Linked DNA regions of Homo sapiens: all the other regions are linked to region 1. The links are contacts of gene promoters, found by promoter capture Hi-C in blood cells and fetal thymus (Javierre and others, 2016). All regions are on one chromosome and are shown on one strand. The core of a region is centred on a gene start or on the middle of the fragment in contact, and the rest is flanking DNA. Distances in the headings are between cores, read along the strand shown.

What was found. Contacts are between HindIII fragments. The CHiCAGO score rates a contact against its expected background, and 5 or more counts as called.
Region 2: a fragment that was not itself captured here is called in contact with the fragment with the promoter of MYCBP2-AS2 in region 1 in 4 of 17 cell types (monocytes, total B cells, naive B cells and 1 more); the score reaches 10.7 in monocytes.
Region 3: a contact is called between a fragment that was not itself captured here and the fragment with the promoter of MYCBP2-AS2 in region 1, in 4 of 17 cell types (monocytes, naive B cells, total B cells and 1 more). The highest score is 11.2, in monocytes.
Region 4: a contact is called between a fragment that was not itself captured here and the fragment with the promoter of MYCBP2-AS2 in region 1, in 7 of 17 cell types (total B cells, naive B cells, monocytes and 4 more). The highest score is 22.3, in total B cells.
Region 5: a contact is called between a fragment that was not itself captured here and the fragment with the promoter of MYCBP2-AS2 in region 1, in 1 of 17 cell types (total B cells). The highest score is 5.0, in total B cells.

Annotation. Positions count from the first base shown.
Region 1 is chr13:77,079,011-77,084,211 of GRCh38, forward strand. MYCBP2-AS2 (MYCBP2 antisense RNA 2) reads right to left here and starts at 2,180. Exons shown (of 2, transcript NR_170173.1): 1 at 1,904-2,180; 2 at 1,501-1,651. MYCBP2 (MYC binding protein 2) reads right to left here. Exons shown (of 83, transcript NM_015057.5): 63 at 4,022-4,182; 64 at 2,827-2,983; 65 at 2,417-2,641. MYCBP2-AS1 (MYCBP2 antisense RNA 1) reads left to right here. Exons shown (of 4, transcript NR_046716.1): 3 at 4,000-4,102. The HindIII fragment of the contact is 5,615 bases long and covers 1-2,328 here.
Region 2 is chr13:79,384,122-79,389,322 of GRCh38, forward strand. The region is part of intron 1 of RBM26 (RNA binding motif protein 26); the gene reads right to left. Among named protein-coding and RNA genes, the nearest start is that of RBM26, 20 kb to the right of the region's middle. The HindIII fragment of the contact is 2,175 bases long and covers 856-3,030 here.
Region 3 is chr13:79,350,024-79,355,224 of GRCh38, forward strand. It overlaps RBM26 (RNA binding motif protein 26), which reads right to left. Exons shown (of 22, transcript NM_001366735.2): 12 at 5,197-5,201; 13 at 4,416-4,547; 14 at 3,130-3,201. Among named protein-coding and RNA genes, the nearest start is that of RBM26, 54 kb to the right of the region's middle. The HindIII fragment of the contact is 3,325 bases long and covers 684-4,008 here.
Region 4 is chr13:79,329,498-79,334,698 of GRCh38, forward strand. It overlaps RBM26 (RNA binding motif protein 26), which reads right to left. Exons shown (of 22, transcript NM_001366735.2): 20 at 4,847-4,933. Among named protein-coding and RNA genes, the nearest start is that of RBM26, 74 kb to the right of the region's middle. RefSeq lists enhancers at 1,174-1,674, 1,675-2,175. The HindIII fragment of the contact is 630 bases long and covers 2,962-3,591 here.
Region 5 is chr13:79,312,183-79,317,383 of GRCh38, forward strand. It overlaps a transcript of RBM26 not described here. Among named protein-coding and RNA genes, the nearest start is that of RBM26, 91 kb to the right of the region's middle. The HindIII fragment of the contact is 1,285 bases long and covers 1,681-2,965 here.

The sequences.
Region 1 (5,201 bases), core at 930-3,429:
TTGACCCCACCCCATCCCTCCAACTAACCACGGTTCCTATAACTTTAGTCTCATTCTCACAAACTCCATCTTAAATTGCACATTTCAGCCTCTCTCCAGGTGCTCTCTCACAGCTTGACATTCCCTCTCCTTATTCAAAGTCTAAATATTCAGATTCCTTCCTCATGAAGCCTTTCAACAAATCTGCTTGTCACTTATGTCAGACTCTTGTTGCTATATTTTCATTACTTTTGGAAGTATAAAGAGGGAAGGTAACTGAACTAACAAATACTTATGAGTGTCACAATGTACCCAGACTTCCTTACAGATTTGAAGTAGGATATATGAGAGGAGGTTCTATCCCCCAAGATACTTGCCAAACTAGGGAAGGCAACATTAATACACAAAATAAATGTCAAACAGTACAAGTTCAATACATGTTCAAACTAGTGTCAAATATCTTAAGGCTGAATAAGTTTTACGCAAAGCACATCAAGAAATAGATTAACATTAATTCCTTGGAGAGCTGCATAATATGAGTGCTGTAGGCTGATACAACTCAAATCAACAAATGCTGTGTACAAGGCTCTGTGGTAGGCAGGTTGAGGAACATGGAGGTACATAACTCAAGGAAAACATACATACAGGTTGAGTATCCTTTATTAGAAATATTTGGGACTAGAAGTGTTTTGGATTAGGGATTTTTTAGGATTTTGAAATACTCTATTTGCATTATCCTTACTGGCTGGGCACCCCAAATCTGAATATCTAAAACCAGAAATGCTCCAATATGCATTTCCTTTAAGTGTCATATCTGTGTTCAAAAAGTTTCAGATTCTGTAGCATTTTGGATTTTCAGATTTGGAATGCTCAACCTATAACATAGAGGAAGCCTGTTAAAAGGAAAGTAGATGTCAGCTTACATGTTGGGAATTTTGAAAATGAATACTGTTATGATTATTTCCTCTTAGAAAAGACAGAAGTGTTAAATTGATTGCAATCATTGTTCTGAGGGAGAGTATGTCCTTGCTTAAAATGTACCATGAGCCAAAGATAGCTTTGCACTGAACAGTGAGTTCTAGCTACAAAAATGTTTTGCTTTGTTACACTTGACTTTCCAGTAAGATAAAGTAGTTACACCAGTGGAAATTCTTAGGTCTGAGGAGGAAATAGCTCATATTATATTAGCTAAGCCTCTTTTACTTACTCAATACCAGGGAGGAATAGAACCTGCACTGATGTACAGGAGTTGGAGGTTGCTCTGATTGCAGACTGGCCTGCATCCAGGTTATCTGAGACCCAATCCTACCACTGTGGCTCTTCCTGAGAAAGGAAATATGCAAATGGCACAGGAGAAGCCAGGCAATGGTTCAAGGAGAGCCATTAATACTGTATCTGCTAGCAAGCCACATCCATTCTGAGGAAAAAAATTCTAAATGAGGTAGAAGAAAGGCAGTCTGGCAGTTAGTGCTATTTCTTTCTTGGTTGTTAATACTCAAGCAAATAGGACTCTTTTTTCTTGTTTAGTGCCTTTTATAAAAGAATATTTAATTCAGTTGAAACACATGGATGAACTAGGCTGAAGAGAATATAAATTATGATTATTTGGGACAGTCTGAAACTTATTTTTTATTTCATGAGGACTGTGGCAAAGTAGACACTTGAAGATAGGCTGGGTGCAGTGGCTCATGTCTGTAATCCTAGCACTTTGGGAGGCTGAGGTGGGCAGATCACTTGAGGCCAGGGGTTTGAGACCGGCCTGGACAACATGGTGAAACCCTGTCTCTACTAAAAATACAAAAATTAGCCAAGCATGGTGGCGTGTGCTTGTAATCCCAGCTACTCAGGAGGTTGAAGCAGGAGAATCGTTTGAACCTGGAGGCGAAGGTTGCAGTGAGCCAAGATTGTGCCACTGCACTCCAGCCTGGGTGACAGAGGGAGACTCCATCTCAGAAAAAAAAAAAAAAGCTGATTACACTATAGGTCAAAGATTATTATTAAGTGCCACCAGAGTAATACAAAAAGAATCAGCAGAGGGAAAGAGTAATTTTTTAGAGGAGTTACTTAGAATTTCTCTGCTGAGTTTGAGAGACCCTGGAAGAATTGATCAGCAGAGTTTAAGGGGAGGACTTCCAGGTCACGGGAAAATCTTAACCAAGGGAATGGCAGCAGAAAATTGTAGAGCAGACTTTCATTTTGCTTAGCTGTAGCCATGGTATATTTGTAATCAGACCTCTTTTCAGAAATGGAATTCCACAGTGCTCCCAATCATATTAATTTGTTTTTAGACTTAAGATTTATTTGGGGATTATAGCAATGATGTTTGGTTGGTGAAATTCCAGGTGATAAAGCTTGTTGCTAAATTCAGAAATGAAAGTGCATGAATACTAAGATCTGAAAAGAGCTAAAGAGCCGTAAATCACGTTTGCTTTCTTACCCCAAGATCTCGGGAATTGTCCACGTGAACAGACACATAGCGGGCATTGATTCCTTTTACACAGTTGATGGTGATGTTCTTAGTTTTGTTTTTATCTTCATCTCCTGATTCCCAAAAGGTTTCTGTGGAGCCGTCTGTCAAACTGCCAATCATGGCAGGTCGGCTTGAAGTTTTTATGTCAACAATGCTGGTTAAGTCCTTTAAGCACATTACTATGCATAATTCCTATCAGAAACAAATATAAGTACTTATGATACTTAAAAGCAAATCTTTCGTGATGATAAAACAAACAGGTATAAGATAAAACATAATGGAAGACAGGATCAAATTGATTATGAATAACTTACAGTTTCTCCTTTGATGTATTATTAACTAACAGGACAACCAGGATAATAACTGAAATGACTGACCTGACTCATAGCTTCAAAGCCAGACTGTATACTGATGCTAAAACTCTCTTCACTATCGCCATCATCTGACTTTGACAAAATATTGTTAATGTGATGAAAGACGTTGCTCTGATGAAGGAACTGGTGATCAGATTGCTTGAATTTGAGACTCCAGCACCTAAAAAGGCGATATATAAGCAATATACGAAATAATTATTTTCCAGGAACATCTAAGGAACTCTTAGATGAGTACTCTGTAGCTAATATCTCAAGAAATTTTAATGTTCTAGTAACAGACATTTTAAAAATTCAGGGAAGAAAATCATTCCTATTGTTTTTGTTTTTGAGAAATAAAGGTAACTTCTTTGGAACAAGGTAAATTCTAAGGAAAGTTGACCCATTTTAAATATAAAAGAATTAGACAGATGAAGATCAAGGCTACAGAAGCAAAAAGGGTAATGAATCTATTGTGTAAACAAGTGGTACACCAACTGCAACAACCCCTCAAATTTATTACTCTTACAATGCCATACTAATTCATCAGGGTATAGTTTATCTTGTAGTTCAAAAATCTTGTGAGGAGGACAAAGAGAAATCTCTCTTCCACTGGTCTTATCATTAGTAACATGGGAAGCCCAAGCATTCCATCAATCTATTTCTTGTATACATTAATTAGGAGAATTTATTTATAAGTGTGAGTCCAGTATGTGAATCTAGTAACAAGGTTCACAGTGTAAAAGCAATGCTAAATTCTCAACACATTTCAAATTGAAATTGGAATCTGTTGAGCATCTGTGATGCTCCTTAAGGTGCTTTTAGGACTGGGTGCATACAACCAGGCTCTGTTTTCCCCAAGATTCTTTTCAAGTCAAAACTCTATTTTGGTTTTTGTTTTTGAGATTTCATTTTCCCTCTCTCTTTTTGGGACATTTAAGTGATTTGAGGTAGGAGACTGGGGAAAGTGAGGGAGATTGCTACAGTGATAATTTAGGGCACTAAGAATTACATTAGCCACATTTTACAGGAGGGCAAACAAATGTTAACTAAGAGGAAGGACCATTCTAAAAATTATGACTGTAAGGAGGGAGGCACCATCTATATAATGTAGGGATTCTATCTTACTATTTAAAGAGCTTTTTTTGGAGCATTTCATACTTTGAATATTCCATAAACTCTCTTGTCCAATGTACCTAGGATATGTGGATACCAAAATTACCTCAGGGCCATTTGCTGTAATGAACTGCCGCTGGGGAGAGACATCATAAGGTCTGAGATGGTCTGCAGCAAGCGGTGAAAGGTGTGTGGTAAAGGATGAGCAGCTTCCCCGGCAATCACTATGTCTGAGAGTGGATGTTCACATACTCTTGTATCTTTCTCCTAAGGCAGAAATTGAAACAAGTTTATCAGTTTGTGTGCTGGAAGGAATCCTCTTCACAAAAGACTATTATGTATACTTAAAAAATGGTCATGTAACAGAAATACAAACAACAAAACCAAATTGTACCCAGAAAGATACAGTAATTTTAACTAATTATGCTTGTATTATTTTAGGGAAAAAAGCTGTAAGTTTAGTCACAAGCAAAATCAGCATGCAAATGAATAAATGTATCAATTCTAGTGTACTCACAAAGATACCTGTAGGGTGAATCCACATGTGTATGCATGTGTATGTGTAGTGTGTGTGCATATATATGTATGTGTATGGATATATACACATACATATATGTAGGTATGTTTTGTGTGTATGTTTATGTATAAAAAATAACATATGTTTAGAAGTTGGGGTGGTCACTAACTCATACAGCATTTTTATGTGAATTAGAAAAAAAAGCTCCTTTCTACGCAAATGGACCACAGCTAGGAAAGAGAAGTAGGGGTTGAATTTCATTTCTCATTACAACCCTCAGATGGCTCCATTAATAATATTAACTATGGAATAACTTTTTATTATTTTGAGTAGATAACACACATCATAATAAAATATTCAAGAGGTATAAAAAAATACCATAAAAAGTCTCCCTGTCTCTACAGCCCAGCCACCTAGATGCCCTCCCACTGGCAATTTCTATTACCAGTTTCTTGGACTGTCTATAAATATTGTTCATTTACACAAATGGCAGCACTGGAAACAAACTGATCTGTGTTCTTTTAACAATAATTTATCTTTGAGATTATTACTTATTAGATATGTATGTAACATATATTATCCCACTGCATAGTATTCTGATGAATAAAAATACCATAGTTTATTTCATCAGTCCACTTCAGAACAGTCATTTAGGTTGTTTCCAATCTTTTGTTTTTATATAACATTCTGCAATGAATCAACTTGTATATCTGTCTTTTCACACATGCATATATGATAAGGAGAACTTCATAAAAGTGGAATTACTGAA
Region 2 (5,201 bases), core at 693-3,192, 2.3 Mb after region 1:
TGAGCTTTGGCAAATTAAATTTCCAAATCACTATGAAGTCATTCACATCAATGATTTTAAAGGCATAAAAATAAAACTTTGTCAATTCCTGAATATACTGTGTTAAGGATACAGCTAATAAAGTTTTTTTTTTTTTTTTCTTTTCATTTCATTTTTTTAGAGACAAAGTCTTGCTGTTACCCAGGCTGGAGGGCGGTGGTGCAATCATGGTTCATTGAAACCTTGAACTCCTGCCAAGAGATCCTCCCACCGCTGCCTCCCCAGTAGCTAGGACTACAGGTGCACACAACTACACCTGGCTAATTTTTGTTTGGGTGTACAAATAGGGTCTTGCTCTGTTGACCAGGCTGGTTTCGAACTCCTGGCCTCAAGTGATCCTTCTTCCTCGGCCTCCCAAAGTGTTGGGATTTACAGGTGAGAGCAATAGTGCCCAGCTGGCATCTTTGTTTTTAAAAACAGTTCAGTTGGAGACTTCCAGCTTCATGCATACCCTTTAAAAGCATAGAAGTGACCATCTAAGAAGGTCATTCTCTTCCAACTATATCTGGGGTGGAGAGGGAAGTACACACACTAAAGTTACAGAAGCCAAATTAATACAGAAAATCAAATGTTATAATAAAATATCTTTAAAAACTAAATATTCTTAACAAGAAACAAATCACCTCTGGAAATAAAGGTTGTACTAATCCCCCAACACACCCATAGTGTGTTTTAGTTTTTCAGATTTTCAAAACAGTAATGAGACCGTAAAGAAAGCTATAATACTCCAATACAATATTTCAAAAAGTTTGTTTTGCACGAGTTTCTTGGAGACTTTAGAAATTCAGTAGAATATAACTCACGGAATTTAACCCAAGCTTCCATGTTCAGTAATCTTGAAAAGAAGCTGGAGGTGGTAGTGGGAATTAAAAATTAAATTTAAATATGTTAACTGAGTAACTTTAGAACACGGATATGCACCCACGTCTGTTCTTTCCAAATTTTCATTTTATATTCAGGAAAAATATCTAATTTGCATCAAAGTCATGATTTTATATTCTGTACTTAGAATTACTCTTTTAAAAATCCAAATTTCATTGCAGCAAGCATAATACATACATTGAAAATTTTAATTGTAGTTTATTACATGCTTCACTTAATTCAAACAAGAAAGCAAAAATAGATTACTTATATACAGTAATTAGTTACAGCAAAGACTACTCATTAAGAGTTATTATACACCCAGTTCATTCTACAAAATAAAATCAAAATATAAGCATATCTAAATATGATCCATCCTTGAGCATCACACAATCTATTAATACTTCTTCATCACTGCAAAATGTATCACAATACATGTAATTATAACACTGAAAACTATTGGCCAGTTCTTTTATTCCCCCACATCATTCCAAGAAATAGCATGATTCCATCTTACTTTTAGAACAGTGGTTCTCAAACTTTTTGGTATCAGGAGCCCTCTATGCTTTAAAAATAGGAACCACTCCAAACAGCTTTTTATTTAAAAGAGTTATATCAATATTTATCAAGAATTAAAATTGAGAAAAAATTTAGTTTAGTTTGATATAATAAATCCATTAAAACTAGCATAAAAACTCTCTATATTTGTTTGAGTAATCAGAAGAAGAATTTATGTGCAAACAAACAGGAAGCCCATATGTGGGGCTGGCTTTTTTTCTGAATCCAGGAGTTCAAATCATATCACCAGGACTCTCTATTCTGCATTTTTCACTTTCAGAAATGCTCTCTATGTGTGGCAAAAATGATGGCCCCCAAGCAGTTCCCAGCTTACATTATTCTAACAGCTAGTGAAACCAGAAAAAGGAGGCTACTCTTCTCTCCCCCAGCATCCGTACTGGCCTCTGAAAATGACTCATCTTCCCCATTTAGGTCATATCCCCACTGCAGGTCAGGGATAGGCAGAGCTCTATGATAAATAGCCTCACCTGAAATTAAATACCATATTTTTAAAATTAAAAAAAAAAACACAAAAACTATTTTTCCAAAATAAAATACAAATTTTCTGAGAAGAGTGACCAAGTTTTACACTTTTTGCAAATACCTTTGTTTGGCTTAATAGAAGACAGGCCGATTCTTACATCTGTTTTTACATTCAGTCTGTTATGACATGTTATACTGGTTGAAGTACATGAAGAAAACCTGACCTGACACAGATACATAGTTGGAAAAACAAGGACCTCATAGACACCATGAAAGGCTCTCAGGAAATTCCAGGAATCCTGATATCACACTTGAGAACCATAGCTTTAGAAGTTACATAACTTCTAAATTAAATAAAAAAAAAAAAAGAAGTGCCCATTAAGTGTCAAAGACCCAATAGTCAGATAACAAAACCAAAGTAAAAGTTTGTACTGTTCAGTGCAAACAGCAGCAGCCCAAATGACAAATTAAGCCCAGATAGTTGTGGTTATAATTATGGTTATACATCAAGCCACAGAACTCTCTCTTTAAAAAAAAAAAAAAAAAAAAGGTGTATCTGCAATATGGTAACCCATGACTAACCTTCATATTTAGGGTTTTTTTTTTTTTAATTCCTATTCATAGTTGAGGAAGAATTGAGTTATCTGAGAAAAGACTGGTTCTAGAGGCCACCCCCACTCCATTACTCACATTCTGTCTAGTTAACAACAGATCTCAGGTAACCCATCCCTCTGGTTACTAAAATGAGAGAGCAGAGGCTAGTGAACATTTTCTTTTAAAACCAAAAAGGCAAAATTATCCAAAAGAAATAGCACTAAAACTAGAAATACAAAAAACCTAGTTCTATCATCCTGTTGGATAAATTTGGCTGAGTCGATTAAGCCTTTAACCTTTTTCTCATATTTCTTTAAAAGGTCTGGCTAATGCTGTGTGGTTATATATGTTAGAGATTCACTTCTAAGTCTTTCTCTAACATTGCTACCAAAATTTTCTGATACGGTTACCACAGTCATGCCAAAATTTATCTTTAAAAATGAGAAATTATTATGGACACTTTTCCGGTCATGAATCTTAAGACTAAGCAAACTAAGCTTCAGTTTTTTCATCTAACAGCTGACTTGCCAAACTAGAAATAATTACAAATAAATATAATTACAAATAAGACACACTTTATTAACCTGCCAAGCACCCTAACAATCGTTAAGGGATTACTAAATAATGAACTATGATAAAAAAAAATGCCTATAATCACCCCTAAAAATATACTTTAGTTAAATTCTGGTTGCTATATTTTAAGTCCTATATTACCTTTCAAACCTACTTTGTCCCAAGCCAAATTGTTAGCCTTTCCATGAAGCAGTCTGGTATTGAAGAAAAGCACTGAACTGTACTCCAAAAAACAATTTTCAGATTTCCAGTCTGGTGTTATTTCTGCTTTATTCACTAGTTATATAATCCTGCGTTAGCATTTTATTTCTCTAGGCTTTAGTTTACTCATTTAAAAAAAAAAAAAAGGCACTGAACCATACGATCTGAAAAAGTGGGTCATTTTTGTGAAAAAATATTTGGCTTTCACCACCTTGCGCTCTTTCTCCCTTCCCATTCCAGTAACTTTTAGTTAACTGAATTTCAAAATAATTTAGTACATAGCATTAGAATCTTCAAGAGAATTTTTTTTCTTTATGTCTTTCTAAAGAGTCACAGAATCCCATTTCCTCAGCACTCATGACCAAATTTTGAGCCCTTAGAAGGCATAAATAAATTCTACTTAATAGAAACATTTTGTGTATTTCTCCTAAATTGCCAGACCTATATAATTTCTGTACATTGTTTCTACCACTGTTACATAGCAACTACTGGTATGTTTGACTGTTTCTCCCATTGGTATTACAGATAACTATGCCTGCCTTTTCCCTAGAACAAATCACAATGTATTGAGAAGGAGCTTCTAATTACCAACATTATAGCAATCTAAATTCAGGCATTTCACAACTCACTCTTAAACTAGACTAAGAAATAGCTAACTAGTCTTCCTTTGTCTTCAAAACGTTTTATCTAATCAAACCTCTACATGCCATAAACTGGAATGCAGTGGCGATCTCAGCTGACTGCAACCTCCGCCTCCCGGGTTCAAGCAATTCTCCTGCCTCAGCCTCCCCAGTAGCTGGGATTACAGGCATGTACCACCACGTCTGGCTAATTTTTGTATTTTAAGTAGAGATGGGGTTTCACCATGGTGGCCAGGCTGGTCTCGAACTTCTGACCTCAGGTGATCCACCCACTTGGGCCTCCCAAAGTGCTGGGACTATAGGCGTGAGCCACCTCGCCCAGCAAGCAACATTCTTAAAAAGAGACTGGATCAAGTAACTCCTGTTTTAACCTTCCCCACATCTCATAATATAGCTCCAAAATTGTCCAATCACTTCAGTATAGCAATAAAACTTTCTCTACATCTGAAACCCACAGAGGCTAGGTGGATTCAAGAGCCTTTTCCTAATCACAATGTATACTCACGATTCCTCCAAACTTCATGTATTCTCACAGAACTTAACTGTTCCTCCAATTTGGCTGTTTAATGTCATCACAGGCATCCAAACTTAACATGATTCAATTTAGGTAAGTGCATTAACAACTTTAGAGACTGGTAACTGCAAGTTTATAAAGCAGTTTTCAAAAATAAGTTCTACCTATTTCAGTCTGCTTGCTACTATAAAAAATTAAACTTTTTAAAAAGGTAAGATAAGCACTTGAGATCATTAAAGAAAGTAATAGTAACAAATAAGAAACGTCACAATGACAATTTCTTACAAAATATGTCCAAAAAAGATCACAAGTTACAGGCCTCAAAGTACCTGTTATTGCATTTATAACTATTACAAGGAGCAACAAATAAACGACCGGCTGAAGTATATATTAATGCTATGTGGAATCTATAATCATTCAAACACTTTTCATTTATAAGTGACTTCATTTAAGATTTTATAAATTTTTTTATCAACTTTTAAATTGCCTGTAAAATGGAAAATAAATAATTGCAGAATGTATGGAGCAGAGATATACAGAACTCAAAAGTAGGCTAGAATTTACACTGACACACTATCTCCCGTAACTTCTTTTAAAATGGCTCTTTGAAACAAAAAACAAAATGAGGAACTACTTATAATGCAATACATAACATCATAAAACAAGTTCCTCTGAAGTACTAGATTTAAACCAAGAAAGTATACTTAATACTAAGAAAGCCTCCAACAGCAGCATTA
Region 3 (5,201 bases), core at 1,096-3,595, 2.3 Mb after region 1:
GTTACACAACAAATTCAAATTTCAAAAATCCAAGGAAACATATTAAGATTTGCTTAGCATCTACACAATGGCACCTGCTAAATCAACAGGTGAAGTTTCTCTATAACATGCAATATTCTTTTAATTATACCACACAATTTTCCTTTTAAAAGTTCCATGGTATAGATGTTAATATATCATCATGCAGAGACCAAGATATATTTTTACATTGCAAAAACCACAAGAACAATAACATCCTGTATCATAAATCTGATATTTAAAGCTGATATGATAAAGAAGATTAAATATTCCACTGGTTACGCAGTTTGCCTTCTTAGAATTTAGAAGGGATTCAGCAAGATAATTTGAACGGTCTTAAGTCTGTTTTAAAAAACTAACCAGGACAGTATACACAGATGTAGCCCTTTATTCTTCATGAATTTCTTTAGTAAGCAGAGGCACTCAAACATAATTTATCAAATCTATTCACATAATAACTAAATACCTCTTGCAATATCTTCATATTTACCAGCAGCAATTACGTTTTAACTTTCCTCTCTTCTAGCCTCCTCACGAAAATGGGGTCTCAGGATAAAGAATAATCACTAAAGGTTTTACTGTGTGTTGTTGATAGGGAAGGTATAAAATGTTACATTTGTGTATTTATTTAGTTTAATAATGACATAGGATACTGTATAGATACAAGCTTTGGGTTTTCCCCTGCCTTCATTTTTTTTAAAAAAAGAATCTTTCAACTAATATTTGATGATGGGGAACATTCTTCTATTCTTTCTAAGACTTCTTTGAATCACTGCCCTGTAAGTATTTTGGACCCAAACCCCCTAAGGATTAGGGGAACAGAAACAACAAAAATAAGCAAAAATAAAATGTTTCTCTGTAAAGACACTCACTGAAGATGAATAAAAGTTACATACTTACTGTTTTCCTTAATAGGCTGTTTACGGTATTTATCAAAAATATTTTTCCCCATAAATAGCTTGCTACCATAAATGATTTTTTTCCCATAAAAATTCAGTTAGTAGTTTATTGCATTAGCATAATATATGGGTATATATATTAGTCTATGCATTAGTAAAGTTATATTATCAACTACAAATTTGTACTCACAATACACTGCAAAAATTTTATAAAAGCTATGAGTACACACTTCAATTTCAAAAGTCCAAATCTGACATTACAGACTCCAAATATAACTGAGCATTTTAGATGTCTCTAGAATTTCTCAGTAGTACACTAAGTACAGCTGAACTTAGTGTTAAATTTTATTTTACATTTAATTGACAGAACTGTACATATTTATGGGGTACAGTGTGATGTTTTGATACATATATACATTATGTAATAATCAAAATCTATCACCTCAAACACTTCCAGTGTTTCTTTTTTCTGAAATACTTATTTTCAACGAGGATAAACCTAATCCAAGTAAGTATTTGATACTGCTAAATTTAGTAGCACAGACTAAGCAGCACAGAAATTCCAAGGAGGAGGTGGGGATAACAGAAAAATCTGGAGGTTTCATGGGAGATGTTAGAGAGACTTTCACTCTTTAAATAATGACTGGAATTTAGTTGGGGCGGCGGGGGGGGAAATGCACTCCAGAAAAATCACCACCAAAAAAATAAAATAAAATAATAAAAGTCAGGAAAGGCCAAAGGAAAACGAGCAGAAAAGTACTCCCTTGGGTAAAAAGACTAGAGCAGAAGTAATAGAACCAGAATTATTGAGTTATCGATGAGCTGTGAATCAAGGAAAGTAATTTAGCTGAGAAACTCAAAGTTTCTATAATGAATTAACGCCAAAATAAGTCTGAGTGTAAGATGGTGACAGTATAAACTAGACGAGGGGAATTCCAGGATGCCAGTTAAGACACTGCACCCAGAGGCTAGGGAACTGAAGGTGGCAGAAAAAGAAGTGGTCTACAAACACAAGCAAATGATTGTAAGGCTTTTGGATCACACAGCTTAGAAAATGGTGTTATCACTTTCTGAGCTAAGGGCTAGGATAAATTAATTTATATAGGAAATAATGAATTCATTTTAGGCACATTATGCCCGAAGTAATGCTGAGATGCCCAAGAGCAAAGTCTGATACACAAACTCAGATTCAAATACCTAAAACTGCCAAAGTTTAACATTGTAAATAAAGAAAATAATATACTGAAGAATATAGTGAAGACAGCAGGGCAGCTATCTCACTGATGCATTATCTCTGAAATTGATTCCCAATCTTCAGACTGAAAAGAGCCATGGACTAAAAATAGGAGCCCCAAATTCTAGTTCTGGCTCAGTGACTCACAGTATACAGATGAAATCATAACACTGTTTGGGCCTTGACTTTAAGATAAGCATATAGAACTAAGAAAGATTATTTAATTCTCACATTCTGTGATTTCATATGCCTCAAATAAAATCAAAGACAAAGTATTTACTCATACCTAAACAAAAAAAAAAAATAACATCTACACAGAACTATAAGATATATCCATAAATGGTCTTGATTTAATAAATATTTACCCCCCTTCATTTAAAAAAAAAGAAATGACTATATGTATTGCTATGCTACCTCTATTACTGTTTAGTAATAAGTGAAAAACTTACATTTACATCATCCTTTCCAGTTTACAAAAATATTTGTAAATAAATGATTTTATTTGATCTTCAGAAAACCCCATGAGCAAGATAAATATTACCATCACCATTTTACCGATGAGTAAAAAGATTCAGAAAAATTAAGAACACTGCCCAACGTCATGCAGTTAGTAAGTGAAGAGCCAGGGCTCAAACTCAGGTGAAATTCCTAATCATGGCCCTTTCTATTAGGCTGCCAGAGTTGTCAAATCAAAATGCACAGTATCTCTAAAGAAAACAAAGTAAATAAAAAGAATAAAACAAAGAAAAGGAATGGAGTACATGGAAATATAGTGGGAGGCAAGTATTAAAATGCTGATGCAAAAGTAAAAAAAGGAAAATATTTTTCTTTTTCAGCAAATGGAAACCAAAAGGTAGGAAAAGATACAGATACTATTAAGAAGCAAGAGTTTAGAACTATGAAAAAAAATTAAAAATTAAGATGCCACCTGAAAACATTTATGAAGCCAAGACAAACACATCATGCTATTCTTCTTACCTTTTCAGTTGCTGAAACAGATGGCTTTGATACAAAACCCAACCTGTCCTTCACAGATAACTTAGTTACATTCTAAAAAAATTAAAATGGACATATTCAGTGTTTCCCCAAACATATAAAAGTCTGTTGGGATCTTGAACATTCTGATTCTACTAATATATACAGAGTCTATGAGTATACCAATACTAACCACAAAAACTTGGTCCTTCTTAAAAGAGACAGAAAGAAAATATGTGGGAAAACAAAAATAAACAGTATGCAATATTATTCAATCATGAAAAATGATGTAAACTAAGAGGTCTGAGCCACGTGGTTGCTAAAGTCCCTGCCACTGACACAGAATAAATTAGGAGAAAATCTCAAATTTTAAAAATTAAAATATATGCCCACTTACTGAGCTTAAAAATAGTGCCAACTTCTTCTAAAGTATGTTTATTTTATATCCAAATATACTGTATTTGGTGATAATTTGGGATGATAGGACTGGGAATTTTTTAAATTAACTAATAATTTACCAATAGACATTCTGCATGTCCTTGCAGAAATTCAGCATCTTACTCTTCAGGAATTATCTAGGAAGACTACTTTAATAAGGTGGCATCCACTAGCTAAGTAGGACACTACATCCTAACTCTATTTTACACAGCAAATGCTGAAACATCGGGAGACAAAGGAAAGCTAAGTTTCAGAGACTGAGAATGTAGAAACAAGAAACTGCCACTCAAGTGTTGAAGGAAGTGGGAAGGAAATGATATATGGAGAAAAGAATCCCAGAGTCAGGAATAAGTGATGCAAAGTTATGAGAGAGCAGTCTAAGTACTTAAAACAGTATAATATCAAGCATGCTTAACTTGATGGTTTAAGCCTTCCCTTACCATAAGCTTTTAGTTTAGTTCAGTCTACTACACAATTATCTCCGGAACAGAATTCTAATTAAGTAAAAAGATGATGGAAAAAATAAGATTTAATGTACTCAACTTCACTCTTCGGGCAGTTTTGCTGACATGTATCTCCTCCACAAAGTGAGAGAGAAATCTTTCTCATAAATATTAACTGGAGAGAGGAATTTAAGATTTAAATACTATAGGAAAAGTAGAGACTGAGAAAATGTTATGGTAATGGTAAAAATTAAAAAAAAAAAAACAACCTTATAGGTGGGGTTCAAATATGTAAAGACTATCATATTTCTATGTAAAATATATACAATTAACTATAATTCAAATCACCAAGGGAAACTAAATTACTGAGAACCTATTACGGGCACAATCGTAAGACCTTTGCTTTACCTGAGGAAGGTCTGAAGAGGCACTCTGGGCTTCTGCAGGTTCAATAGTACTTGAAGGTACTGGACCCAGCCGCTCTTTGACTGACTGCTTCACAACAGGCAAAATGGGCTGCTGGACTAAAGGCTGCATTACCTCAGAACAAGGAAAAAATGTTAAACAAGTTGATTCATTCAAAAGGATGGAAAGTGACCTGTGTTATTTTGTTACTACATTGCCCATGCAGAGAAAGTTTTTAAAATGCAGCTTATAGTCAAAACCTAACTGCCTTCTAATTTCATCCACACATATACAAAGATGTTTTCTTTGCATAAAATAACTTATTTACTGGAATAAATTAAAGTCCAACTTTCAATATCTTCTAACAATCAAAACCCATACTGTTGTAATATACCTCTATAAACACTCTAACATTACACACCGATGGGGGTTGGGACAAAAAGGAGGGAGAAAGGGGAGAGGGGAAAGAAGAGAGAATCTCTAAGATGAACCTACAGTCTAAATTTCTGGAATATACATAGCTGAGTACTCCTATCTGCCACGGACTATTCCATATGTCTCACATACACCATGCTGTTCTTTCAACTAGCAATTAACATCACAATTATGAGAGAACAGGTTAGAAAGGTTGAGTAAATTTTTCAAGTCTTTACAGGTAACAGAAGCTAAATGCAGAACCAGGGTATGAACTCAGGCCTACTTGATTCCAATGCCTCTACTCGTAAACGCTATGCTAAGAGCTTTCTAAGAAATGCGCGTACTTTTACACAAATTCCTCTCTTACCTTTG
Region 4 (5,201 bases), core at 2,027-4,526, 2.3 Mb after region 1:
CAATTCCAGGTCTGGAAGAGACAGTGTTTAAAATGAACCTAGAACACCTTCTCATACCAGAAGGAACAGAACCACTAGGATCCTGTCAAAAGCACTCAGGAGCCAACCTGTAGTCTCCTGGCCAAAGATGGAATAACTTCAACATTAATAACTGAGAGCAATGGATTTGTACCCATAAAATGTTTATATATGAATTTATGACTGCATAACACCAATCAAGCTATATCAAAATATGAACCTTATCTAGATCCTTATTTTTAAAAAGTAAATTTACAAGAAATTAGACAAATGTCAACCCTGACTGGATATTTGATATTTAGGAATATAATTTTTAGGTGTGATAGTAGTACTGTATTTTTTTAAGGCTCTATCATTCGAAGAGCCAACCTACGTTAAAACCTAAATGAAAAAGGAAGGAATCAAACCTCTAGAAACTGGTTCCATCATTTAAGGTTCTATCATCTAAAATGTTTACAGATGAAATGATACAGTGACTGTGAATAGCTCCAAAATAAGGAGTGGGCAAGTTGTAGCGAGTGAAATATAGATGAAATAAGATTGGCCCTAAGTCGATAACTGTTGAAGCTCAATGATGTGCATATGTGAATACATTTTATAATTCTAATTTCTATACTATAAAATGTACACAAAATTTGAGTTTTAAAGCTGAAATAGTTTATTCAGAGGCTTGTCTCTAGTCTTTTGACTATTTATTCTTACACACATTCATTCAAAGCTTACAGCAAATTAAGGAATGGCATATACATAACAGAAAGCACAAAGGTTAAAGATCTAACAAAGGAGGAAAAAACTATGAAAAGTAATTGTGGATTCCACATCTTACGTGGAAAATGTTCTGGAAACAATTAAGTTTGGAAAAATGTTGGGTGAAACAAAATTAAACAGGTTTGTTTACCTCTGGACTTAGTCCATTTAGACTACAGTTCTAAATGGAATATAAAAATGCAGCCTTTCACAAACTTATCTGACAAGAGAATCTTTTGTTAGGGGATCTCTTGCAGAAACAGTGTTTTGCAAAAACTACAGAGAAAACTGACTTGAAATACAGATAATTACCGAAAAGTAAACTGCAATCCTATGGTTCCTTACGTTTTTAGTAACGATAATATAACTAATATATAAAAGAAGGCTAAAAGCAAGTTTAGTAATATTTGTAATGTTATAGAATGTTAAAGCACGAGTTATGAACACAAATACATATAATTATATAATATATATGACCACACATTTTTAAAAACATGCAAAATCTAATTTTTAGAAGTTACAAAGAAAGACTTCCAATTCTTTAACTCTTGAGTTCAATGCACATGGCTACTTTCCCACAAGCTTCAGACCTCAAGTTACTAATTCTGGTAGCACAGTGCCCATCACATAGCAGCACTTAATAACTATTAAGTATCAGTAAAAACACACACACATACACACACACACTCTGCTATGCACATAATTTGACTTCTTTTGGTTGAATCCATTTAGTAAAACATGATTCTCTTTCCCCCTATTTTTTGCTAAGATAGGGTCTGGCTCTGTCGCCCAGGCTGAAGCACAGTGGCATGATCTCAGCTCGCTGCAACCTCTGCCTCCTGGGCTCAGGTGATCCTCCCACCTTAGCCTCGCAAACAGCTGGGACTGCAGGTGCACGCCACCACACCTGGCTGATTTTTTGGTAGAGATGGGGTTTCTCCATGTTGCCCAGGCTGGTCTCGAACTCCTGGACTCAAGAGATCCACCCCACTTGGCCTCCCAAAGTGGTGGGATTACAGGTGTGAGCCACTGCGCCTGGCCCCTCTTTCCTTTTGATATAAAAAATTGTACCTCGCAGCCAGGCACAGTGGCTCATGCCTGTAACCCCAGCACTTTGGGATGCTGAGGCAGGTGGATCACGAGGTCAGGAGATCGAGACCATCCTGGCTAACATGGTGAAACCCTGTCTCTACTAAAAATACAAAAAAAAAAAAAAAAAAAATTAACTGGGCGTGGTGGCAGGCACCTCTAGTCCCAGCTACTCGGGAGGCTGAGGCAGGAGAATGGCATGAAGCCAAGAGAGGCGGAGCTTGCAGTGAGCTGAGATCACACCACTGCACTCCAGCCTGGGCAACACAGCGAGACTCCGCCTCAAAAAAAAAAAAAAATTGTACCTCTGTGAGTTTGGGACTATAGGTTTCATTTTTGTTCTGATTCTTCTAAAACAGCAACTTAATTATTCCTATTCTGAACAGGATCTTGGGCTCCTACAAAGGTACAGTAACAATTCAGTGCAGAAAAGATAATATTCAAATCAGTCATGGAAGAGACGACTGCTTTACTCTTGTCTGAGTACTTATCCAACTTTAGTACTTTGGCATGGTGATAGACAAAAAAATAGAAAATAAGGTAATAGGAACCATCTTCTAGGTAACAAGGCAGAGTCAAACCATAAACCATCTTAACCTAAAGCTAACAGTGTTCTGCTTATACTGATGGTCTTTAAAATGCTTCAATATTTTTCCTGAGGAAAACTTCTCACTTTTCAGTTATATCTGAATGTCTCAATTACCTTATTTATTCTTGTACTTTCATCTTGAAATACTATGCATCTATTGATTATAGAAAATAAATTCATTCAGTCATCTAGGATAATGGTCCAGAAAACAAGAACAATGTAATGTTTGACAGTAAACATTGGCAAGGGCTGACAGTTTTTTCTTGGGAAGGCCTATCCTTTACTGCGAGTTCATGTTCTCCTACATTTTCAGTGTTAAAATTTCCTTTATTTTATATAACAATGGTGATAGAACATGACAATCTTTTTGTATTTTTAAAGTATTCTTCCCTGGCAAAATAAAAAGTTGATACCTCTATGACAAACACACAAATTTTTAAATTCCTAAACTTTACTGTTCCCTGAAATCCAAAAGTTTGAAGACCACTGCTCTATATGTATCCTGCTTGTATAAGATAAGCTTCAACTTAATTTTCTATTCTTTTCAACATTACAAAATTTTAAGAAACTTTCTGGCTTAAGGATATGCTTATGCTTTAACAACTTTTGTAACTAAAAATCTAAACATTTATCATAGCAGTGGTCATTACTCTTTTTAGTCTATTAAGTAAATCCAACTAAAGCTATTTCCTCTAAATAGGTAATTCTCATTAGACCTAACTTGGCCTTAGTTATTCTGTCACTTATTCAACCTTCATGTAATTCAGTGCTAAAGTCTTCCTTATACATTAATCCCTGGTATTTTTTATTGTTATTAATTTTGAAAAATACATTGTATACACGCCTAAGGTACAAAAAGCAAGACCCAAGAAAGAAGGTACGTGTCAAAAGTCTTTCCGCGAGCAAAATTTCCAAAAATTATTTAAGAAGAGGTTTTAATTTTTTCTCAGCCATATAAGCAAGCAAGGGAAGTAGTACATATTTAAAGTTCTTAATAAATCCACAAATTTGGCAATATCTGAACCATTTGTACAGTAACAACTATCATTATTTTATAATACCACTATTCCCTAGAAAATACATAAAACATAAAACTACCTATCTAGCAAGAGACTAAAAATTATCAACTGAAGCCACCACTGAAAGGAAGCTTACTCTAAACTTGCACTTAACAATACCCTGGAGAGAACATTTAATCAAAGATCTACCTTTTTCAATATAACATACACACATACAAGCTTATGAGTTTTAAAATCTCATCAATTTTAAATTACTTTTTACTTTCACAAAAGAACATTAAAGAAATGATTATTCAAAGCTAGCTTTAAAAAGAGAACACCCTAAGATCAGGAATTCCTATTTTATAAAATAATATACTACCCCCTACCTCTACCCCCAAAACTAGATTTTTTCAAGGCTCCAGTTGAATGACTTATCAGACCCATAGTCTTATGGTTACAATGCCCCAAGGGCAACTTCTACCAGGTAAGCAATGTACCACTGTGCTGGCAGAGAACATTCACTACAAAGAGGATAAATAAATGTAGAGGTTTTTTCAAAACTTATTTAAGTTGAAATCAACTTAAAACTTCTGAAAAGCATCTCACTCTTTCATTGCTTTCATTTGGAAAACTATTTCATCCCTGGAACAATGGCAAGGACAAAACAGTGACACTGTCTTCTCTACAATTCCTGAAGAAAGAACACACAGGGCAAAAAAGGCTCCTATGAATCCCCTACACCTCACTCCCATTTTCCTTTTTTTTTAATCTTTGAAACCCAAATGAAAGACAAGGTTGCAGATATTCCGGTCAGTCCTTGGAAAGACAATTCAAGATTGATAGTTTAAGGTAACTTTACTAAGAGTACCCTCAAAGTTAGAGGTATAGACCATGTCTTAGGCAAAAAGTCATAGAAGTCTAGTTGGGGCTATGCTGAACTAGGGACACTTCTTTTAGAGTTCAACCTGATGAGACCAGGAAGCAGTAGATGAGGAATGGCTAAGATGGGCAGACATTAGAACTGCTTGTACCTTATCCCTCACCACTCATTCTGCCAAAGCAGATCCTGTTTTGGGTCAGCTGAAAAAAAAGAATAATGGGTAGTGGAGTGGCCCTATCTACTATGAAAAAGAAAGAAAGGAGAATCCCTGGTATCTCACGACAGCACAATTTGACATTCCACTTGGTGACTAAATATGTATTTTAATTGTATTATGTTACACACAGAATTGCTTATAACTGCATTAGGACATTCTTTGAGGGCATGAATTCCACTTCAGGTGTTCTACCTATTGTCAAAGCATATTATTTAGTAAGTTAAAAAATTCATTTATATTAAAACTTAAAAGTAATACTTATAAATCATTTAAATCTGAATTGATAAATTATTTTTAAAACTTACTGCTTCAGCTTCTGCTCTTGTCTTGAATGTAATTACTGCATGAAGTGAGGAATCATCAATCTGACAATCTTCAATTTCACCATATTGCTTTAAATTAAAAAAAAAGTATTTCCTCCAAATAAATATTTTGAAATATCCAAAAATCCTAATGGTATTAAAAAACATTAAAATACTAATAAATATAACCCAGAATACATAACAATTCATAATGGTTAACAGAAAAGTATGGTGAGTAATTTATTTTAGTACTTGATAAGATAAAAGGTGGTCCTGTCTTCCAATCTTACATACAATTCACACTTCCCAGAATTAGTAAAACTTATACTCAATTGAACTATGCTTTAAATGAAGGAAA
Region 5 (5,201 bases), core at 1,073-3,572, 2.2 Mb after region 1:
AGACAAGAAGACTCCTTTGGTGTTTTTCAATTCAACAGTCCACCGAAATTGAGTTTAAATAAACCACTTATTAGAAGAAATCTTGTGCCAGACAATATGTTCTGAAGTAGCATCATACCCAAAACAGGTTTAGCCTTCTGAGAATGAAAAGCAGGCATCCATGAATGCTTTGCTGATACTTAAAACATTCTATCATATGAACATTCATTAAGGTGCTGGAAGGAAATCTTGGGACAAAACAAAAAAATCGACACATCAATGCAAAAACCTACAATGCAATAATACTTCTCTTTACAACTCACCAAATGTTCCGTAAATATTTAAGAATCACTATGCCTCCTGTTGAGTGACAGACATGGGAATTTAAAGCAAAGCAGGATTACATATTTTAGTATTAGAAAAGTTTTTCATTTGAAATAAGGGAAAACAGCCATGCTGAATGAGTTTTTGGATTCTAGCCAAATTAACTGCCTTCCTCTTAACAAAACAATTTTCTTTTTGGGAAGCTGGGCACAAATAAGTGTAAGGGCATTCTGCATCATATTCTTAAATTATGATGTGTTTCTAATGGGCTGGGCTCTCTATCTGACTCAGCACAGACCACTTTTATAAGTATGCTGCTACATTATAATAAATCACAAGGAATCAGATTAAAACCTAGCAAAGTCTGAACAATGGGTTCAAAAATGATACTGAAAGGTTTTATAGCACCAATGACTTTTTCCTAAGACACTTGAGGGGCCTGTATCATTTTAAAGTATGATTTATCTTGTAAACAAGACCAAAAATATTCAGTTGATCTGTATTTTGAGCATAAATATTTATAAACTCTATTAAAAAAACAAATATAGCATGACTAGAGCAGCTTAATAGTGTAAAATCTAAGTATTGAAAAATATAGATATATAAAAGGCTTTCATTATGCAATCATGCAGAGGAAACTGCTTCATTCAATTACACAAAAGTGATTCTGTACAGTTATCTACAATAGCTCCATGAGAATCCTATTTAGGAAAATAAAATAATGAAAACCTTATCTCTAATCAACACGGGGATTTTAAATATGTAACTGACTAGATCTCAAAGCAATTTTAAAAAAGCGCAGTGATCTTAGTGAGAATCAAGTCATCTTGAATTCTGATTCTCAATGGTATCTTCAATTTTGTTTTGCTTTGTTTTTAATTTTAAAAGCAAAAAGTGAAAAATCAAACCAAACCAAACAAAAACTCCAGGATGACAAAGTTGCAGGTAGTGGCATGTAGTCCATATCCATTAAACAATCAACACTGTTAACACCAAGTTTAGTGTCTTCAGACAATGGTCTTTACCCTAGCAGTAAACCAGTGTAGTAGGGGCAGAAAATTCTTTGTTTACAATTAAAAATACTCAACTAATTTGGGGAAATATTTATGAACACCCTGTGGCTAGTTTGTAAATGTGAACCAAAAGTCTAACAACAACAACAAAAAAAGGCCTTGTAAACTACTAGGTCTTTAAAATATTAGAAGACTTTCCAAATTATGTATTTTTAACCAAGCCTAGAATTAACCATGCTGTATCCAACCAATGTGGATCAAAACAGTTAATTTACATTATGACTGATGTGTTTATTACATTCTTTTTACTCTTCATGACAAATGCAATGCATACTCAAGGGGAAAAAAAGTTTGCAGAATGTTAAGCTTTGCACCAAAAAAAAAAAAAAAAGTGATAAAGGTAGTATGGCTGGATAAAAATAAAACAAGGGTGAATAAAAATCAGTGTCAATTGGACTTTTCTAATATAGTTACTACCAAGTATAGCTTCCAACTTTTTAAATGCCTCCTGAGAATCTATGAAGGAATACTCAGAAACTAAGTGCAAACATTTCTTATAGTCCCATTATAAAAAAGATATTGTGGCTACATATTTAGGATGAGATTTAATCAGATTCTTTATAAGTAATTCTAAGCCATATTAAGTCATACTGCTTATAAATAATTTGGACATACACTTCTTAAAATGGTTAAAAACTAGTCTTTACCAATGTTAGGCACACAACACTATTTCCTCTTGCTTTAAAGGTCGTCTTCGATGTCTTGATTGAAAGTCAAAAAAATGTGAAAAAATTATGTTAAGACATATAATTTTTAAAATATTTATAATCCACAGATCATCATTTGTCACTTGGAAGAAAATTATTTTCTTTGTTGGTTTTGAAGGGCTAAGAATTTTTAAAAAAATATTTGGGTAAATGACCTTGGCAACATCAGAAAGTATATTCAGAAGAAATGCACAAGCTATTACAGTACATAAAAAAGTACTTTATCATCTATTCAAAATTATTTTCAGTGGCTATCCTACTCCCAGAAATATATCTTAAGATCCCCCCAAAATTAAAACCAAACTCATGTTTAACTTTTTAATTCATTTTCATTTTAAATTGCTCATGCTAATGAACACAGTAGTATGGCTTTACAGATTTCCTAGACACAATCCTCAATTTGGCTCAGACTTGAATATACGTCATCCAAGAGAACTTTTTCGTTCCTTCTTAAGGTGTTTAAAAAATAAATGGCTATAAAGTATGGGGAGAAAACATTTAAGAATAAGGTCAGAGCACACATTCAGATACACTTTGGACTCAGATGTACTCTTAGAGAACTGTAGAGATAAAATGCTAATTATAGTACATGTAAACATCTGTTCAAATTGATAAAGAGTGAACATAAAATAATAGGATGATATTATTGTAACAGTCGTCTCCAGACAGGAACTGGTCTTGCTCTTGCAGTCACAAAGCTAAATTCAGGCAATGATGATCTCTCTCTGCTGGAAAAAGAGAAGACTATTAAAAAAAACTTTGAAAATAGCAAATAAATCTAAAACTTGAATCACATCATAAATTGACCTCCAACTTTTCTAAACATTAAAAAAGTCTATTTGAGAAAGAAATCAAAATCAAAGTTGCAGGAAAATTACACAAAGCTTTGGGCTAAAATGATTTTACCAAAACCTCTCTGCATCATACTCCCTTCAAACATTAGGCTGCAAAAGATCACAGCATACAACATATCTATGGTCTAAAATTTTCATTGCGAAAACTACTTAACTGATATGGAAAATTTTCACAGAGATGTGGGTAGGCAAAGAAATTTTAGGAAATCATGAACAAATTCCAAGATGTTGTAAATAAAAATGAAAACAGATACAATCTTCTTAAGGTTTCCCAAAGATTTCAAAGTAATTGCAAGATACATCTAATTTCCTTAAACTCCATATGATAATCACTTCATTTGTTAATCACATTATATGAAGTAAAAGTATACTAAGCACAAAGGCCCACAGTAAAAATAAAAGGAATACATGGAAATCAGACAGTGCCTGGTATACAAGGAGAGGCTAACTTTGGATGATGGGAAATGAGTAGATGGATGAAATAAACAGTGAGGGAGGATTTAGGAAGTAGCAAGTATAAAAAGTGGATACGAAAAAAGTAGAATTTTAAAATGCTTTTAATTACATTAAGTAACAAGCACATAATATGGATAAACTGCAAGAAAGTTATACCAAATTAGGTGTTTTTCTACTAAGCAAGTTTGATGTTTTTCATTAGCAATTAATGGGAATGGCAGTCATGTTCACCAAAGTTTCTTTCCTAGGATTTTTAAGTAGCAACTTTGGAAGATTATCTATTGTCATCTGACAGGTATATAATGATCAGAAAGGAAAATTTTAAAAACTGCTCTTCCCTAAAGGCCTGTATACATACCTTTGAGCAACTAGCCAGTTCAAGAAGTTAACAGGAACAAGGTAGTTCCTGAGATCTGGGAAAAGGAAATTTTCTTCTTGTCTTACAAATATTGTACACTAGAAATTTAATTCTGCATTAAATTTCCATTTGTAATTTACAGTATTTTATAAGAACAAGAAAAGCCCCGAGAGAAAGACCAAAAAGTTAACTAAGCCAGAATTTCACGCAGGAAATTTTTGTTTTAAAAGGCTAATATAGACTTTTGTAAGTGGGGCAGGTGTGTGTGTGTGTGTGTGTGTGTGTGTGTGTGTGTGTGTTGGGTGGAGCTTACAAAATTTATATAAATTCTAGAAGAACTAAAACTAATTTTCTATCAGTCTACATTGTGTGTAAGGAGGGAAAAGAAAACATATTGATAAAGTTTGCTTCATACTCTAAAATAGCCAGTGATATTTCAACATGCCAAATAAGCAACTGTTGCTTCCTTTTTGAACCCTTATAAGCCAACAGTTAGTGTTCCAAGTAAGAGTGGATAAAGTCCCCCAAAATCAGTTCTAGTAAGAAGACATTTCTTTCAATTAAACTTAGCCACACTTTCTACAGGAAATCAGCTAAAACAGTGAAGTCCTGTCTTTAAACTATTAGTTGTCACATTTAATCAAATCACAATAAAACAAAAGCTATGGAATACTCTCCCATTCCTGCAACATGTTTTCATCAAATGCTTGGGTATCAGTTAAATATAAAATTTAATTTGATTATGTTACAATTATCCAGTAACATTTAAAACAACACTGCTTAAGTAGAGACACAAAATATTGGGTGAAATAAGTAAAACGACAACTCAACCATCCCTTGAAATAATCCTAATCAATCTTTTAACCAGTAATACACAACGTTCCTCAATTTTTTCCTGTAGGAAGAGGCGACCTACATTGCTGTCCTCAATCCTTTACCAACTCCCAACTCAGCCTGCAGCCCAGCTCTGTACTAAAGCAAAATAATCTGTTAGGAGAGCTGCAGAATTAAAAATGTGTTTCTAGTTTCAGGTAGCATATTGGTTTGTTTTTTTTTTAAAAAAGAGTAAACTGAGATGGAAAGGACAATTTAAATCCATATTGGTGAGAGAACTGACTCTATCTGCATTACTAGCAAGTACTTCTACTTTAAAACTCTGAATTTAGAAGGAAAATGAAAAGTTACAATTGGAAAAAGGAAGTGCTGGTGAATACAGAAGTTCATCTCTATTTTATAGGCTGAATGTAATTTGTACTGGCAAATGCAAGCATGTAGGAACACTATACACAAAACTGTACCAAGAGGCATCATATAAATTACCATAACCAAATCCAAGTTGTTTCCAATGATAAAATGATAGAAAACAACAACGATAACAGGGAGAACTGGCTTAGATATATTAAATTGTTTTGTCTCAAACACTAATATAGTACCAAGGAAACTATAGATG